3 separate regions of the Homo sapiens genome follow, and all the other regions are linked to region 3. Evidence: promoter capture Hi-C in human tissues and cell types (Jung and others, 2019). All regions are on one chromosome and are shown on one strand. Each heading gives the region's core, a stretch centred on a gene start or on the middle of the fragment in contact. The rest is flanking DNA. Distances are from core to core; before and after follow the strand shown.

What was found. The method cuts DNA at HindIII sites, captures the fragments that hold promoters and counts their contacts. A contact is called where the count stands out against the background at its distance.
Region 1: a fragment that was not itself captured here is called in contact with the fragment with the promoter of METTL2B in region 3 in 1 of the 25 tissues and cell types used here (adrenal gland).
Region 2: a contact is called between a fragment that was not itself captured here and the fragment with the promoter of METTL2B in region 3, in 2 of the 25 tissues and cell types used here (aorta and bladder).

The regions. Positions count from the first base shown.
Region 1 is chr7:128,332,364-128,335,743 of GRCh38, forward strand. RBM28 (RNA binding motif protein 28) reads right to left here. Exons shown (of 19, transcript NM_018077.3): 8 at 3,180-3,316; 9 at 927-999. Among named protein-coding and RNA genes, the nearest start is that of RBM28, 9.9 kb to the right of the region's middle. The HindIII fragment of the contact is 4,118 bases long and covers 1-3,380 here.
Region 2 is chr7:128,714,256-128,717,793 of GRCh38, forward strand. It overlaps GARIN1B (golgi associated RAB2 interactor 1B), which reads left to right and starts at 1,136. Exons shown (of 7, transcript NM_001282788.3): 1 at 1,136-1,435; 2 at 2,558-2,742. The coding sequence starts at 1,187. The HindIII fragment of the contact is 6,852 bases long and covers 1-3,538 here.
Region 3 is chr7:128,475,288-128,478,437 of GRCh38, forward strand. It overlaps METTL2B (methyltransferase 2B, tRNA N3-cytidine), which reads left to right and starts at 1,461. Exons shown (of 9, transcript NM_018396.3): 1 at 1,461-1,588; 2 at 1,795-1,886. The coding sequence starts at 1,479. RefSeq lists enhancers at 1,298-1,347, 1,568-1,737. The HindIII fragment of the contact is 14,580 bases long and covers 1-3,150 here.

The sequences.
Region 1 (3,380 bases), core at 690-3,189, 140 kb before region 3:
TTTTTTTTAAGACAGAGTCTTGCTCTGTCGCCCAGGCTGGAGTGCAGTGGCACAATCCCAGCTCACTGCAACCTCCACCTCTGCGTTTTAAGTGATTCTCGTGCCTCAGGCCTCCCGAGTAGCTGGGATTACAGGCACACACCACCATGCATGGCCAATTTTTGTATTTTTAGTAAAAATGGGGTTTCACCATGTTGGCCAGGCTGGTCTCGAATTGCCCTCAAGTGATCCATCTGCCTCAGCCTCCCACGGTGCTGAGATTACAGGCCTGAGCCACCGCACCCAAGAAAATAATTCTAAAAGATTGTACAAGAAGATAAAATATATAACTCTAAAATCGGATGCAAATGACCCTAGTACACTGGTACTTAAGGACTAGAAGGCAGGCCTGAGGTATACTGAAGACATCCTGACCTCATAAAAGCAGCAATCTATTGCAGTCAGTAGAGCTAAAACACAACAGCAACACGAAATAAAGCCTATTGCCACCCCCACTCCCACCTAGTTTTCCTGGAAACAGATGAGATGCCTTACTTTATTCTGGACACTGCATCAGAAGATAAGTTAGGCATAAAGACAGAAATCATTTGAGACAAGCAGTGTCAATCCTCTCCAGCACTCCCCCTAAAACAAAGGCCGGAAGCAAGATGTTTCTAACAGTTGAACTGATTTCTTCCAAATGATGCCAACCCAATTACAAAGCATGAAATCTAAATGAAAACGTGATGTCAGGACCCATGCTATCTGTCTTCTGTGTTATAGTTCTGATTGTCCTACATTTCTCATTGTTTAGTATGTTCCTGGGACCAGATGTGCTTGATCTAATTTCTGGGCTAGGTAACAGAACTAGTGCCAAAAAGAGAAGAAGAAGGAAGAGAGATCTATGAAGACCACGCAAAAGCAATTCTGGAGGCAGAAAGACATACCTGATAAAAACAGTTTTCCCTTCATTCACATCAGAGGGTAATTTCCTCTTCTTTTTGTTTGAGACTTGCACAGCTAAGGTAAAAAGAAAAACAACAAACTGAAAGAGATTAGTGTAAGCCACATGACAAAGAGCTAACTTCTTAAGTACATAAAGATAAGCCTGGCGCAGTGGCTCATGCCACTTTGAAAAGCCCAGGCGGGCTGATCACCTGAGGTCAGGAGTTCGAGACCAGCCTGGCCAACATGGCAAAACCCTGTCTCTACTAAAAATACAAAAATTAGCCAGGCGTGGTAGCAGGCACCTATAGTCCCAGCTACTCAGGAGGCTGAGGCAGGAGAATCCCTTGAACCTGGGAGGTGGAGGTTGCAGTGAGCCAAGATTGAGCCATTGCACTCCAGCCACGGTGACAAGAGCGAAACAAAGTCTCAAAAAAAATAAATAAATAAAAATAAAAATAGACAAAGGACATGCTAAGTATATGAAAAGATGTTCAAACTCACTCTTAATTAAAGAAAACATAGCACAAGAAATGAGATACTATTTTTCACCAACAGATTGCAAAATCAAAAAGACTGATGGAATCCAATGTGGTAAGGTTATGGGAAAAAGACATTTCCATATACTACTATGACAGTGTAAACTTTCTGGAAATACTGTATAGGACATAGGAAACTTTGAGGAAAAAACATACACATACAATCACACACAAATTATAAAATACACTACATTTTGAATGTGTATATGTGTGTGTATATGTGTGCATTTTGCTTATAAATGTATTAAAATATCTATAGATACACAAGAAACAAATAACCTTGGTTGTCTCTGGGGAAGTTCCCTAAGAAGCTGAGGATCTGGGTATAAGGGAGACTCACTGTTTGTTTTCAAGAACAGACATATAAGCTTATACATACAAAGAAAATATCTGGAAGGATGCACAAGAAACAACAGTGATTACTTCAGGGAATTGTTAGGATTGGTGAGAAACTTCTACTTTGTGTATTACACTCTTCTGTGTTGTGTTTTAACTTTTTATCATTATCATTTATCTGTCCTATAAGTTTTTTAGGTGAAAGAATGGCATGAGACAGCTGACTGTGGGTTGTAGAATACAGGATCTCAGAGTCCCTTCAGTGTAGAAGCTTCTTTGATTCTAAGGTGTATACCATTCTCTCCTCACAGAAAAAGCTTATTTCCTCAGATTTCTTATATGGTCAAACCAACATGTCAGACTTACTGAAATGGAATCAGAATAAAAACAGCTGAAATAAAAATCTCCACCCAGACAAATCAAAGAACCAGTTATTAGCCATTTCTCATTCTGTAATGACCTGCCTTCCTCAATAAACAAGTTGAATTTATTCTCAATAAAGGTAGCAATAAGGATTGGCTAAAGTTTTACAACATGTTCAAAGAGGTCCTTGTTATGGAACGCACTGTGTTCCCCCAAAATTCATACATTGAAGCCCTAACCCCAAATATAATTGTATTTGGAGACAGAGACTTTAGGGAGGTAACTGAGGCTAGCTAAATGAGGTCTTAAGGTTGGGCCCTAATCTGATAGGATTGCTGTGCTTATAAGAAAAGAGAGACCAGAGTTCACTGTTACTTGTTCTCTCTCTCCCCTCGTCAAGCCACAAAGAAAAGGCCATGCAAGCACATAGCGAGAAGGCAGCAGTCTGCAAGCTAGGAAGAGAGCTGCACCCAAAATGAATCAGCTGGCACCTGGGACTTCTAGCCTCTAGAGCTGTGAGAAAATAAGTTTCTGCTGTTTAAGCCACCCAGTTTATGGTATTTTGTTATGTCAGTCCAAACTGACTAAACAGTTCTTTATCCCCATCTCAACTCCAAGGAGTTGTTTAAAATCTAGCTTGATGTTGAGATGGTTATATCATCTGTTTCATCTATATTATCTGTATAAGATGCTGTTTACCTGGTTATTCTATCAAGTTGGACAATCCAGAGAGAGGTAGAACCTCAGCATTAAGCTAGGTTTTCAATTCCCTAAGAATCTTAACCCTCAAACACCACTCCAAAACTCACTTAAAAAACAAAACAAACAAAAAGGAAACAACAAAAAAACCTTTGGAAGAAAGGAGTATAAAGGTTTCCTTTTCAGCATTTAAACATAAATTTGATAGAACACCTTAGAGTCCTATTTAAAAAGAGATCTAAGCAGAACTGATGCTCATTTCCGTAACTTCAGTAACTTTTTTAAAGTCTAAAGACATTTATGAAAATCCAAACAAACCTTTATCCTCTTGCTCCTCAGTGCTGGTATCACTCTGAGCCAGTTCCTCTCCATCATCAATACTATCGCTTTCCTCTAGGTCACTGTCCTCCTCAGAATGATCACTGCTTTTTGCAGGGGCTGGTCTCTTGACTGCTCTGCAATGGCACAGATCAGAACTAAGGAGGTGGGCTGACAGAGGGCCTATTCAATTTCATTACA
Region 2 (3,538 bases), core at 942-3,441, 240 kb after region 3:
CTTGATGGTTAATTCATTATGTAATAAGTTCAGAATTTGGGACAGACACAGTGGCTCATGCCTGTAATCCCAGCACTTTGGGAGGTCGAGGTGGGCGGATCATCTGAGGTCAGGAGTTCGAGACCAGCCTGACCAACATGGAGAAACCCTGTCTCTACTAAAAATACAAAAAATTAGCCAGGCGTGATGGCACATGCCTGTAATCCCAGCTACTCGGGAGGCTGAGGCAGGAGAATCGCTTGAACTCGGGAGGCAGAGGTTGTGGTGAGCCGAGATCGCGCACATTGTACTCCAGCCTGAGCAACAAGAGCGAGACTCCATCTCAAAAAAAAAAAAAATTTAGAATTTGGTCCAAATTAGAAAACAGTTTCTCCCAGGAATGGCCTTGAATAGTGGTCAGCCTGCTTGGTTCTTTCTTCCTGACCTAGCAGCCCATGATTTGGGCTCTTTCCTCCTCTGGTTCAGGGGTGAGGGATGCTGTCACTCTCCAAGAGGGGGAACAGCTTGGGACCTAGCAGAGCTGCTCATCGGGGTTCTATTCCTCCCAGCCAGCGCCCTGACAAAGCCAGCCTCTGGATAAGAAACTAATTACTTCTCCTGCTTCTTCAGTTTGACCTCCTAAGGGAAGTAAGTCCTGCAGAAGTAACCAGCCTGCCGCGGCAGAATGCAGAGCAGGCACCAACTGCCCTGCAACTGCTTCCATAACCTGCAGATCCACCAGGGTGTCGGGGGCCCACATGCTGCAAAGCTTAGGAAGATGGGGTTTTCAATGGACATGCAGCTTTTAAAGTTGTGTGAGATAGGTTGCATTCAGAGTAAGGAAGGGTTGAAAGGCAGGAAGGGCATTTTCCTCTTAGCAGTGGAAGGATCTTCCTGACAGCCCTCCTTGCTTGCTTTCTGCCTGGCTCACTGCTTTCTCAGCAAGTTCCGGGAGGACTATGTCCTGGGGTTCCGAAAAGGGCTGGGGAATGTCCAGGCACGGATAAGGCACACAAGCTCTCTGGAGGAAAAGGGAGGCTCCTTTGCACTTCCCCTTCCTGCAGGTCTGTCCTGGTTTTTCATGATGTCATCCATTCATCATTGTGAGCTGACTGGTGGTCCCAGGGCTTGGCCAGCTGCCCAAGGCCAGGAGGGGAGACAGAGATCCCAGGACAAATGTGCAGCAGGCCCCTGAGCATGTGTAGAAATGTTGTCATCATTTCCACATAGAAAGACTTGGAGGAAATCAAAGAAGACAGTAAAAGTCACAAGATCCTATCCAACCTTCCCTTCCCTGAATGCCTGGGAAGAATTCAGGGGCCTCTTGCCTGTGGATGGAGAGCCGAACCCTGGAGCGGGCCTAGGTGTGGAGGAGGGACTGCTCTGCCGGGTGGTTCATTCTCCAGAATTCAACCTGTTTCTTGACTCCGTGGTGTTTGAAAGCAACTTCATCCAGGTATTCTTGGGTGGCGCAGAATAGCACTCTTTGATTCTTCGAAACCTGTTCCCAAGATATGACTGAGAGAGTCCATCCCTGAAACTGGGGCAGAGTGAGAATTGAGGCAAGGAGAAGCTAGTGGACCTGGAATGCAAGGCCACCCTCACTGACCTGGGCTTTGCTGAGCCCCAGACGGGGCTTCTCCTACAGACAGCTGTCACCCAGGGAGAAAGGTCAGGGGTCCTCTGCTCTGAGTGGAGAATTTGGTATCTAATCCCCCAGTTTACTTCAGCCCCCAGGCTGTCACCTGAAGTAGATGAACAAAGAGGCAGTAAAAAGAGACGCTTCTTGAGAACAATAATGCGGATTGGCGAAAGAACAGCACCTGGGGTCCCAGAGACAGCTGGGCTCAGATTCCAGTCCTCTGCCTTCTCCTTGGGAGGTGACTGTGCAAGTAACCTGTGCAGCCTGAATCTGGCCCCTTGATTGTAAAAGGGTTGAACTGACCTGAGGATGAAATGCAAATACAGCAAGAAAAGTACCTTGTCTAACAGGCACTCGGTGCACGTTCGTCTCCTTGCCTGGGCTCTCCTCTGGTTGGATGGAAGCGAGAATGAACAGCACTTTGGAGTTAGAGAGGACCTTCCTGTTCAGTGAAGGTGCAGGAGATAATAGGGCACCTCGGGGAAGGACCAAGAGGATACATTTTTCAAAGAAGGCCAGGAAACAGTCCAGGGAGGATTGGCAGAAATGACAGATGGCAGGGAACTCCTGGGTTGTAATTCCTGTGGGCAATTGTTAACAAATGGGTGGTTGAAATATTGTTTAAATACTAGTAGTTGTTTAATCAATATAGTGGCTATCAACAAGAATTGATTTTTGGCCCCAACTGCCAGGGAACATTTGACGATGTCTGGAGACATTTTTTATTGTCACGATTTGGCTGGTAGTGCTACTAGAACTAGTAGGTAGAGGTCAAGGATGCTACTAAGCATTCTTTAGTGTGCAGGGCAGTATCCTACCCTCAACAAAGAATATCCAACCCAAAACATTAATAGTGTCGAGGTTGAGAAACCCTGGGCTGAAACAGACTGCAGCTTTTGCCAAATGCTCAGGTTGTGCCTGGGGGCTGTGTTGCAGGTCAAAAGGGGCAGGAATTGGAGAGACGTCTACAAAGCTTCCAACACCATGGCCCTGGGGGTGACCTCCTCGGTACCCTGCCTGCCCCTCCCCAACATCCTACTCATGGCCAGTGTCAAATGGCACCAGGGGCAGAACCAGACATGGAACAGACCATCCATAGCCCCCAACATCTTCCTGAAGAGGTGAGCAATGCAGATGAGAATGGAGGACAAGAGGGGTGAGGGGTGGATGCAAAGTGGAGGTTGCTTGACTACTAAACTCAAGGAGAAGATAGAGATGTCATCAGCAGTGACATTGATTTTTTTAGACAACAGAGTATCCTAAGACAGGTGTTGCACTGGAAGGACAGAGGCCAAGTGGGACAAAGGGAGATGTCATGTGGACAGGAGTCAGGGGCTAGTCTACCTGCCCACTTTCTTTCTCGCTGCACAGACGCCACTGAATTCATAGGAAATCTCTCAGCATTGGGCCCAAGGGCAAGGAGGCAGTGAGTCTGGCAGATGGAGCACTGGTTGGGGAAAGGAGATTATTTCTAGTTCTTGGTGTACAACTAACTGGACTCAATTTTTAAAATCACAAGTTATTTGCTGCTCCTCAGTTTTCTTTGTCTTTTTCTTTTTCTTTCTTTCTTTTTTTTTTTTTTTGAGACTGAGTCTCAAAAAAGACTATCGCCCAGGCTGGAGTACAATGGTGGGATCTTGGCTCACTGCAACCTCTGCCTCACAGGTTTAAGTGATTCTCCTGCCTCAGCCTCCCGAGTAGCTGGGATTATAGGTGCCTGCCACCACACCTGGATAATTTTTGTATTTTTAATAGAGACAGGGTTTCACCATGTTGGCCAGGCTGGTCTTGAACTCCTGACCTCAGGTGACCCACCCTCCTCAGCCTCCCAAAGTGCTGGGATTACGGGCGTGAGCCACTGTGCCCGGCCAGGTTTTTTTTGTTTTTTTTTTTTAATCAGTAAAATAAATGGGACTA
Region 3 (3,150 bases), core at 211-2,710:
ATGAAGTACAACTTCTTTACTATCTTTTTGATTAACTTGTGTATTTTTCTTCCTGATTAGAGAGGCTTAGAGCTTGTTCCCATTTCTTTGGAGGAAAAGTATAGAATCATTCATTGCTCCCTGTAGTTTTACCTACAGAAAGAATTTACAATGGAATAAACAATTACTGGCTGGGCACGGTGGCTCACACCTGTAATCCCAACACTTTGGGAGACCGAGGTGGGCAGATCATTTGAGGTCAGGAGTTCAGGACCAGCCCAGGCAACATGGTGAAACCCCATCTCTACTAAAAATACAAAAATTAGCCGAGTGTGGTAGCGCGCACCTGTAATCCCGGCTACTCAGGAGGCTGAGGCAGGAGAATCACCTGAGCCCAGGACATGGAGGTTATAACGAGCTGAGATCCAGCTACTGCACTCCAGCCTGGGAAACAGAGCAAGACTCCGTCTCAAAAAAAAAAAAAAAAAAGTACTAATTACCAATGTGCTATGTCTAGCACTGCACTAACCCTTTCCTTTTTTAAAAAAATTCATCTTTCCCTTTATTCTGACATTATGACATTAAATAAAGTCCAAGAGATATTGGGCTGGTCCTTGTTTGGTCTCTGCCCTTTCCTTCTTTTCCAAGTGGTATTCATCATGCTTCTCTTGGAAGTCTTCTCAAATAACCTTATGTCTATAACATACTTTCTTCTAGATTCTTTTGAGAGTCTATTTGTATTAGATCTAGAAATAGAAATGTAAGGCTGAAATGTATTACTATGACAAACTGTATGTGTGTATTACAATCTTAATTGTGCTAATAAGGATAATTATAATAAATATAATATGGATGATTCAAAAAGGTTAGATGGTTATAATTAAAAAAAAATTGTCCTTGGATATTCCATTTGATTTGCTAAGCCTCGTGTTCTCTAATTTCATATATCCATCTCCCCCACCCCAACCAAAATATATATACACACTGTGTATACATATACACCCACACTATGAAGAGCTGACTATAGAAGCTGGAAATTGCCCTGTTTCTTTCCGCTGCTTGCTACCTTCTTCAGTTCTGGACATCGGCTCCGCAGTGGAACTAGGTAGCCTCAACTCTTATAATGATTCAAGATTATTCCTGTTTTACAACTTGAGGGAAGCTGGGGAACCTGTTAAGAGGATCCCAGCAATGAACTGGGCCTCAAGTGGAATGTCTCCCACTTTCTGCCTAACCTGCACGTCCATCAGCACCTCATCAATGAGATACGACTCCTCCGGGGAGAATTTCCCCCTGCCTGGTCCCCTTCCCTAGAGAGCCCTTCGCCAACCCTGGGAAAGCCCCAAACGACAGCTCCCGAGCGCCACCCGGACCAGACTCCAGGACCGCCCTGTCCCGCCACCCTTTTTCCCGCCCAGACTCCACGTCTTCTGAAAGAGGGCGTGGCCCGCAGGAAGTTCTCGCGTTACGGAAAGTGAAGTGTTTCCGGCTCCGGTGTCATGGCCGGCTCCTACCCTGAAGGTGCACCTGCAATCCTCGCCGATAAGAGGCAGCAGTTCGGAAGCCGGTTCCTGAGCGATCCGGCGCGCGTCTTCCACCACAATGCCTGGTAATCACCCTGCCCCCTCGCCCGGCCTGTCGCTGGCCGTCTGTCCCGCCGCCTCGGAGCATTCCGAAAAGCCCCTGACCGCCGGCCACGAGTCAAGCTGCCCTACCCGAGGCACTCTCCAAGGGGAGAGAAACTCCTAGGCCAGCGACTCACCCTGCTCGCAGCCAGGACGTGAAGCCCCTAAGCTGCCCGTTTGATTTTCTCAGGGACAATGTGGAGTGGTCGGAAGAGCAAGCCGCGGCGGCGGAGAGAAAAGTCCAGGAGAACAGTATCCAGCGGGTGTGCCAGGAGAAACAAGGTGCGCTTAAATGGGCTCTCGTTGGTATCAACAGCCAGCGTACTGCCGAACGCGCCCTCCCGGAGAGGCCAGGGAACCGCGGCCGCCCACATCCTTTATTCCTGGCCTGATGCGGATCTCAGGAGTAGAGCAGGACAGGGAGGGGATGAGCAAGGAGGGAAAAGGGCTGCATTGTAACAAAATCTTAAGTCGTAGAGGGTTTTTTTAATATATAGTTTTACTTTGGAGGAGGGTAATTTTGTCTTTAATTATGTTGAGTAGATCCACGTTGATATGGCTAGCCAATGACAACTGTGTGGTCACGCGATCATCTTAGAACCTGTACTTTTTACATGATTTGCATTTTCCATGAGGAGATGTTTCCATTGAAGCTTCATTTAAGTGATTAGATTCTAAATATTGTTGGGAGGGGGGCTAATGACTGGTGACTGTGTGTCTATTACTTGTGTGATGGTTATGAGAATTTAGGGCTTCAGTCAAGGAAAGGTGGATGCAGCAGAGTGGAGATAAGTCTGGCCAAAGAAAAGGAGGCCCCTGCTTGAGAGGTTGATGATTTCACTGCAAAATATCCCTAGATAGTAAAACTAGGACTGATTGTTCCAGACAATTGAAGATAGCACTACAAATTTAGTACCTGCTGAAAGAGTTCTGTACAACAAAAAGGTTCCAGTTACAAAACATTCACCCTGCATAGTCTGACAGCAACTAGATCAAAGCAAGTTAATAGTTAAAAGGGATTTTGAAAATCATGTGGTTCAATATTCTCTTTTTATAGTTAAAGACACTTGGACCACAGGACATTAAGTGCTTTTCCCAGAGGTAAGCAGTCAGTAGTAGCAGTAGTGGAACTAAAATCCTGTTTCTTAGGGAGTCTTGGTTGATTCAGCAGGTGAGTTGTGAGTTGTTAACACACTTCTTAGTGGATTCCAACTTCCATTGTCACCGTCCTGCTCAATTTGTTAGGTTTTTATTCTTTCTACTACACTAGTCAAGGCCCCCTGAACTGGCAAGAGCAGTAAACTGAAATCTGGGACTGTCATGATCACCTTAAAAACAGCCTTCATTTAAACTGTCCATACTTTTTTTTTTTTTTTTGGAGGCGGAGTCTCGCTCTGTCACCAGGCTGGAGTGCAGTGGCGCGATCTCAGCTCACTGCAATCTCCTCCTCCCTGGTTGAAGCGATTCCCCTGCCTCAGCCTCCCGAGTAGCTGGGACTACAGGTGTGCACCACCATGCCTGGCTAATTTTTTGTATTTTGGTACAG